Regions from separate parts of the Homo sapiens genome. Here region 2 is linked to region 1. The links are contacts of gene promoters, found by promoter capture Hi-C in human tissues and cell types (Jung and others, 2019). All regions are on one chromosome and are shown on one strand. The core of a region is centred on a gene start or on the middle of the fragment in contact, and the rest is flanking DNA. Distances in the headings are between cores, read along the strand shown.

The links. The method cuts DNA at HindIII sites, captures the fragments that hold promoters and counts their contacts. A contact is called where the count stands out against the background at its distance.
Region 2: a fragment that was not itself captured here is called in contact with the fragment with the promoter of VGLL2 in region 1 in 1 of the 25 tissues and cell types used here (ovary).

The regions. Positions count from the first base shown.
Region 1 is chr6:117,263,860-117,267,624 of GRCh38, reverse strand. It overlaps VGLL2 (vestigial like family member 2), which reads right to left and starts at 2,067. Exons shown (of 4, transcript NM_182645.3): 1 at 1,781-2,067. The coding sequence starts at 1,861. LOC105377964 (a long non-coding RNA gene) reads left to right here and starts at 2,551. Exons shown (of 2, transcript XR_942911.3): 1 at 2,551-3,050. The HindIII fragment of the contact is 18,110 bases long and covers 1-3,765 here.
Region 2 is chr6:117,313,381-117,317,145 of GRCh38, reverse strand. It overlaps ROS1 (ROS proto-oncogene 1, receptor tyrosine kinase), which reads left to right. Exons shown (of 44, transcript NM_001378902.1): 39 at 1-3. Among named protein-coding and RNA genes, the nearest start is that of VGLL2, 50 kb to the right of the region's middle. The HindIII fragment of the contact is 4,879 bases long and covers 1-3,765 here.

The sequences.
Region 1 (3,765 bases), core at 818-3,317:
AAATGCCACAAAAAGTTTGAAATAATTACATTTAGTAATGAATTGTGTGGGGTAAAAATCTGGGGTAACATGACTGGGGAAACACGGATCATTTTAATAAATGCAAGTTGATTTTTTTTTTATTATCCCTATATCAGTTTTTAAACAGATCTTCTCTTTAATAACGAAAGACCAGTGGATTACGAGTATTTCCACCCCCATCATCTCCACACACATTGAGGAAATGATAAAAAGGAGCAGACAGAAGAAAGTTAAGATCCTGGCTGTGAGGTGGGGTAAATCGGCATGTCTCATAGTGATTTTAAAAAGCAGGCGCAGCTTCTGTGAACATTTTCTTAGAAATGAGCAATGGACTGAATGAAGTGTTAAAGCATTCTGCAGGCAGAGATGGCCTTGAAGAGGCGGCCCGAGTCATACAAAAATGAACAGAGATCTTCATGCAATAGATTGGTTCGGGGTCTGGGAGAAGAAAGGGCCAGTCAGAAAACCAATCCACCTCTCTCCTCTTTGCTTGCCATAGTCCCACCCTGGGAAGAAGTACATTTCAGAAGCTGGAGCCAAAAGGTTTGAAATAATTGGGGACAAAACGATGTAAGATTTAGCAATATCACCACTTCCTAAATGCCACCTTCCCTACAAGAGGAACTCTGGTGATTCTTAAAATTAACACTGAGGCAAAACAAACTGCAAGTTGTGAAGTTTAAAAGAGAAGAGGAGGTAAGAAAACAAAAAGTGAACCCTATCCGGTCCATCATTAATTTATCGGGAAATTTTCGAATAGACATTTTAAATTTGCAGGCAAAATTAGCAAAAGCATCCACTGGGGCATTGGGGTGTATTTCAATTTCCCCAAAGCAGGTGACCAAGCTCTCACTTTCCAACCTGGAGGGGACCCCTACAGCCTCCCAGGTGTATGATTTCATTCTTTTCCTGCACTACTGTCCTCAGTTTCTGCTACCTCAGCTGAGGAAATGGAAGGAAAATGGTTCAAACAGACGCAGCCTGAAGACAAGAGAAACTGGCAGAATTAAATGGAACTTGAAGAGTTTGCAGAACCCGGGTTGAGTGGTCTTCTTAAAGTGTTTGTTGGAAGCAGGGCTTCCCCATTCACCTACTCAGGCTGGAGAAAGGCAAAGTATTGTCTATCAGGCTCGCCTCTGCCGGGTCATTCGCACTCCGGATAATGCTCCCAGAACTTCGCAAAGGAAAAAATTATAAAACTGCGCGGTGCTCTTTGAAATGAATTCTCTGGATCTGGAATTAATTGCCCTGGTCGCCAGAGAATTGAAACGGAAGAAATTATTCCTGAGATAAACTTGCAGGGATGAGAACACCGGCCCTTGCATCTCAGAAAGAGGCTGGCTGGCCTTCGCTTTTGGTTTTGTTGTTACTCTCACCATTGGGACCAAAGTTTGGTTTTTCCTGCGTCAGCTTTGCCTGCATTTCCTGGTACCTGCACCTGGCTTGGAAGAATCTGGAGTCCGACAGACCCTAAGAAGAAAATCCAGCCCGTGCCATCTTCCTCTGATTATTCCAGGGAAGACCTAGGCTCACATTAGCAGGGCTTAGCTGCTTCCCGAGAGCAAACAGGCGAGCTAAAGGGGTTAGCTAATTGCACTACCAACTGGGGGCGGCTCCGGCAATCCCCGCATCCCGGCTGCGCCGGTCGTGGTCGGACGCCCGAGACGCGCGGAGGCACAGCAGACCTTGGCGTACAGGCCATGCCGCCGCAAACGGGGGGCGCGCACTCCTTCCCAAAGTCCCCAGAGGAGACACGTACCTGGTGGTAGGGGGTGTAGGCGGCTGCGAAGTAGGGCTGCGGAGGACCATAGACTTGGTACATAACATCCAGACAGCTCATGACTCTCCGCAGCGGAGACGGTTAAGTGTTTTTTCATTAACTCTCCTTCCCCGGAGCTCAGGGGTGCTGCATGGGCGGCGCTTGGACCCGCGCTCTGGAGTCATCAGGCGGAGCAAAGCCAGCGCGCTCCGCGGCTCGGAATCCAGCTGGCTCGCTACCCTCCCACTCCTGCGATTTTACTCCCGACCGCGCTCCAGGGCAGAAGCGCCTGAGCTCCCGCTAGTGGGCATTTAAAGCCCATGCCCGGCGGGCGTGCTGACGCCACTCGGGGGCTGCGGAGCGGGAGGGGGCGGTGGGGGGCGGGGACCGGGGGGCCAATGGGGAGCGAGGGACGCTTGTTGGAGGGGCAGCGAGTGTGTTTCCCGGGGCCCACCTCTGACAAGCATGCGGCCAAGGGTGCCGGAGACTATGCGGTTCCCAGCGGATCCGAGGCTTCGCACCGCGAGTAGGAATCTCCCAGGACAAAATAGGAGAGAGAGAGAAAGAGAGAGAGAGAAGGAGGCGGGGACGAAGGGATCCGGGCTCATACACGCAGAGAAAGAAAGTTGGAGAAAGGTCTCTTAGGAAAGCCCTTGTCTCATACTGTAGTTGAGTGGGTGCTTCCAGAAGTGCCGAGGTGGGGCAAATTCTCTGCTTTCGGTTCCTGATGATGTATGGGGAGGACGGTGCTGTCCCTTGGAATCCCCTAGGGAGTCCGGGTCGTGGCAGACAGGATGTGGGAGTCCGGGTACCCCTCCAGGGCGCAGAAGAGCTACCTCTGCGGGGAAATGGCAGTGGCTGAAACCTGTAACCGCTGTCCTCTAATCCACTTCCTTTCGCTCCCTCTAACCTGGTCCTCCCGCCGCCTGTCCCACACCCCAATTCTGCTCTCTTGGGCCGTGCCCTTCTGCCCCTCTAAAGTTCGATCCTGCTCCTTTCTCTTTGATGTTCTCCACCGGAACCCGTTAGCTTCGCATAGATCGCGCCCGCTTCCGGCTGCTCCCGGTGTGAGCTGCTTTCGAGGAGTCCAGGAGGCTTTACCCGGCCTCGGATGTCTGGCTTTTCATGCTGGGGTCTCCTTGGCCGGGGTCCTTTAAAGTTTTGGCAACTTTGGGGACAAGGACTCGTTGGCGCTAAGAAGAAGCATACTAGGACCCGTACACAGAGAGGTCTTTTGCTGCCTATTCAGCCGGTAATACCAGCTGCGATGGTATGTTTCATTTTGGAGAGCTGGAAGTATATGCACTCCAACTATAAAACCTTCACCCCTTTCTCTCTCCGGCCCTCCCTGAGAGGTCTGCTGGCTTCGCCCTCCTTCCTGCGACCCTACCCATCCTTCTCAAGCCTACCCCCCACCAAGCCCTCTGGAAAGGGGGTGTAACAGTGGAGTCTTCAGTTCTATAAGTTTAGGAATGCATTGAGACAAGGCTATCTCCATGGCTGGGTCAGGTGGCGGAAGGGGCATTACGGGAATAGAGGCGGGCCAGACTTGGGGGGACCAAGGGAACAGGTTGGGAGCATTAAGAGTCTAGACTCAAGAAAGAGGCAGCATGGATTTCAAACCCTAGTTATTCCCCAGCTTAAATACAACAGAAAGTCTTTATAGAGTCTCAGGCTATAAGACTGTGAATAAATGAACCCTTGAAGATCTATTTGTGTTTTAAAAGTGAGTATTTTAAGCCAAATTGTTTTAGGGTTGCAGTTTTGGTGTTGCCCAATTTATAGATGGGAAATGGCTCCGTGTCTCCAAATGCTTGTAACTGGTGAGCCATCTTGAGCGATTCGACAATTTCCTTAATTAACAACAATGTAATCTATGTAAAGTTTTCTAATCAATGAAAAGTTAAAATAAAGACACTCTTCTAGTACATTTCCATGCAAGCCTCTTTTTAGGGGCCAAGCTGCCTGTTGGATGAAATCTGCCA
Region 2 (3,765 bases), core at 699-3,198, 50 kb before region 1:
ACGGTAGGCAGTTGGGATCCATAATATTGGTTTCATAATGCAAATGCCCTATAATTCCCTATTAATTTTCTTTAAATTTAATAGGCTGCAGTGGTAAAACCTTAGAAGACTTACATGGAAAGAATTATTCTGTTTCCTTCACATTAGCTTTTGACAATCAGAACCCTGGGCTAACATTCTGGCACTTTCTGGTCATGTGAGCCCGAGCCTGTTTTTAGTATTTAATGGGAGAACATGACCCTCATTGCCAGAATCATGTTTTTCTGGAGCACAGGGATAGCGTGGAGTTGGAAAGGCATATCTCTGTACTTAATCTATATGCCTGTCTGTCCCAAATTATATTTCCAGTCTTGATGTCTTTACTGAGTACCAGACTTGTATGTCCCTCTCTAGTTGACATATCTTTTTGGATTTTAGTAGGTATCTCAAACATATTTTGCCCCAAACGGAGCTCTTGATTTCGTACGTCCTCTCCTACTCCACCCATCTACTTCCTTGCTTTCTCTTTCCCTACATCCATGCTAACAAACTCTGCCTGCAAAACGCAGCCGCAGTCCTTCTTCTCTTGTATCCCCAGTGCCTGGAGCAGTGCACAGCACATTATGAACCCTGGAAATACTGTGGAATGGCGGACAGGACTGGGGGTGACTACCTGTAGGAATCTACCTTATACCTTAGATGAGAACACGTAAGATAAGACAAGTCAGCAAAGTTTAAATCTGGTGGATTAAAAAAATTTTTATATCAAAATAAACATCATATGGCTAAAAAATTAAAATGTGTGACAAAGCATATAGTGAAAAACAGGAGCCCTGTGCACTGCCTCATTCCTACCTCTCAGGCCCCGCATGTATCTTGTGGTATTTACCGCCAAGTTCCTAAATAGTCTGCTCATACTGACACATGTTGATTTTTCAATTTGGGGTAAATTGATTGCCCAGTATGGAAGATGAGGATTTAACTCTCTTAGACTTCCTCATAATATACCTGTCCATCCCTCACCACGCTACACACAGGAAAACTTTGCTTGCCTCATCCTCTGACAATTATCACAATTTTGCAGATAAACCATCCTTCCAGGTTTGCATTATTAGAACTATTTAGTTATTATTATTATTTTTAGAGCTGAATTATCCAAATGTTATTAATGTAAGTTTTTTTCTCAGGCTAGTTTAATAAATATCTCTTGTTTTCATTTTAGTTTTTATATACGTAAACTCCCCAACTGAATTGTAACACTTTTCTCAATATGGCTAACAGTATCAGACAATCTAGTACTTAATTTTTTCTTGGACACTTCCTTCCTGGAAGCAGTGTGGATGCTTGTGCTCTAGGCTAGCTACACAGCTGCTGTTCTAGGGTTTCCTTCACATTCAACCTGGGAATCTTCCTCAATTCTTGTCCATGTGGGACTTTTTCCATGTATCTCATGACTTTTTGTTTGTTTTAGAAGAGAAAGTATGCATGTGCAGCAAAAATCTGCTTTTTTTTAATTTTTGAGAAAACGTCCTTTATTCTTCCCTCACACTTGGTTGATAATTTGGTTGGACTTTTAGGTTGAAAACTCTTTATCTAACAGATAAAGCCACTACATCTTTCTTTCCTCGCTTCTACAATTGCCAATAAGAATTCTTATGCCACTCTGATTCCTGAGCTTATTATCAGTGGTCTGTTTTTTGCCTCCTCCCCTTCAAAAATTTGAGGAAAATTTTATCTGTGGTACTCTTTACTCATAGTAAAGTAACAGTTGCTTTGCTAATCATTCCCTTCAGTTCCAGGATTTTTTTTCATTGTCTCTTTGATAATGAATAGAATTCCTTATTCCCTCTATTTCTTTGTTCTAGAAATCCTGTTATAACGGACTGCTTTGTTTCATCTTCTCATTCTATTAGCTGCTCTCTCCTATTTTCTAGCTTTTGTCATTTTGCCTTCTATTGTGATAGACTTCCTCAACTTTGTCCCCAATCTTTTTGTAGAATTAAAAATTTTTGTTAACATATTTTAATTTTTCACAGTCTTGTTCTTGTATTTTGACTGCTTTTTAAAATAATATTCTGGTTTTGTTCATAGATGCAAAATTTTACTCATCTTCTTTTAGGGTATTAATTATGCTTTTCAAAGAGTGTTAATTTGCTTCCTGCATTGTCTTGGCTTCCTTGTTCCTCTTTGTTTTGGAATCTGATTCAATGTGAGAATCTTTCTCAAATGTTTAGTATTCTTGGCTGGTTTCATATTTAATCGTGAGGCCTAACAAAATGATGGGAACCTATGTGTCCAAGGAAGCTTCCTTTTGGTGTTAGGTGGGACCCTGCTCTTCCACTGGGGGTCCTCCAATGTCAGTAACTGAATCTTTTCCCTGACATATGCCAGTTTAACCAGGGAGGAAATTGCTCGTTTCTCCTCTGGACAGTAAATGCCTGATGCATCAACTCAGAGCGTTTAGAGGGGGCTGGAGGTCTCAAGGCTCAGTATGTGGACTCTCATTTAATTTTAATTCTCTGCATTTCAGTACAGTGCCTCAGTGTGACTGGTAGTATCTCTGAACTTGGAGTTGTTCTGGTTCAGGTTTCTGTTGTTTTTATTTGTTTGTTTTCTATAGACAAAAGCCTTCATCTGTGGTAGAAGAATCTATGATTTAGTTAGGCCTTAAATAACCTAAACGTTCTTTTTGCTTTCAGTCCTTCTTCTTGTCCCTGTATTCAGGGATACCTGCTGCCTCCCATTCTGGAGACTATGAGCTTCCATAGTGAAAAACAGCTCAATTCTTGCCTTTTCTTTCTGTAGGCAGTCAGCTTTCATCTCTCTTGGCTCTGCTAAATTACCACTCCTCCATCTGCTTTCCCTCTTCCAGAATGCTTTGTCTGCCATGTCAGTTCTCATGACAGTTGATTTGCCCTTGTGAAATTATGAAAATTTTCACTATACTGCCATGTTAGTAAGGTTTGGGGAGAGAGTGGAACTAAAAATGCGCACATTCAATCCCTCATCTTAAACAATAAATTTTATTTGTAGATTTGTCTTGTTTTGTGGTGGGGCTGGGGGTATGAAAAGTGAAGAGAGGATGAAAAAGGATGGACTGAAAAAAAAAGTGGATCTACTTTTTCCAGATCGTTTTGAGTCACCCAGGATCCTAATGCTTATAAAGATTGGTTCTCACATGCACTTCAGCTGTTCCGCAGCCTTTCCTGGTGGTTGCCAAAAACAGCTTCCAGGGCTTCGTCTCCTTCGCTGCAACCATAGAGACATCGTTAGGTGCTGAAGGCAGAATGAAGGCCTGAGGCCTATGGGAGCCATCACAAATGCTACTCTCCCTCCTGCTGACTTCTTTTGAGGCCAGCCTCTCCCCACATGGAGTGCTCAGAGGCACTATCTCAGAAGAACCAGCAGAGGCCTTTTTCTCTTTCTCCCTGCATTCAAGGACTATTTTATTGGGTTGAATGCCTAAGAATTGACTGCAGCTAGGCCCGGAAAGCTTAGTCTAGTCCTTTGTTCTGAGGACTCAGTTTCTTTATCTACAAAATGGAATATTGAATCAAAAGCTTCCTAAGTCTCCTTTTAACTTTTTTTTTTTTTTGGACAGAGTCTTTCTCTGTGGCCCAGGTTGAAGTGCAGTGGCGTGATCTTGGCTCACTGCAACCTCTGCCTCCCAGGTTCAAGTAATTCTCTTGCCTCAGCCTCCTGAGTAGTTGGGACTACAGACATATGCCACCATACCCAGCTAATTTTTGTATATTTTTTGTAGTAGAGACAAAATTTCACCATGTT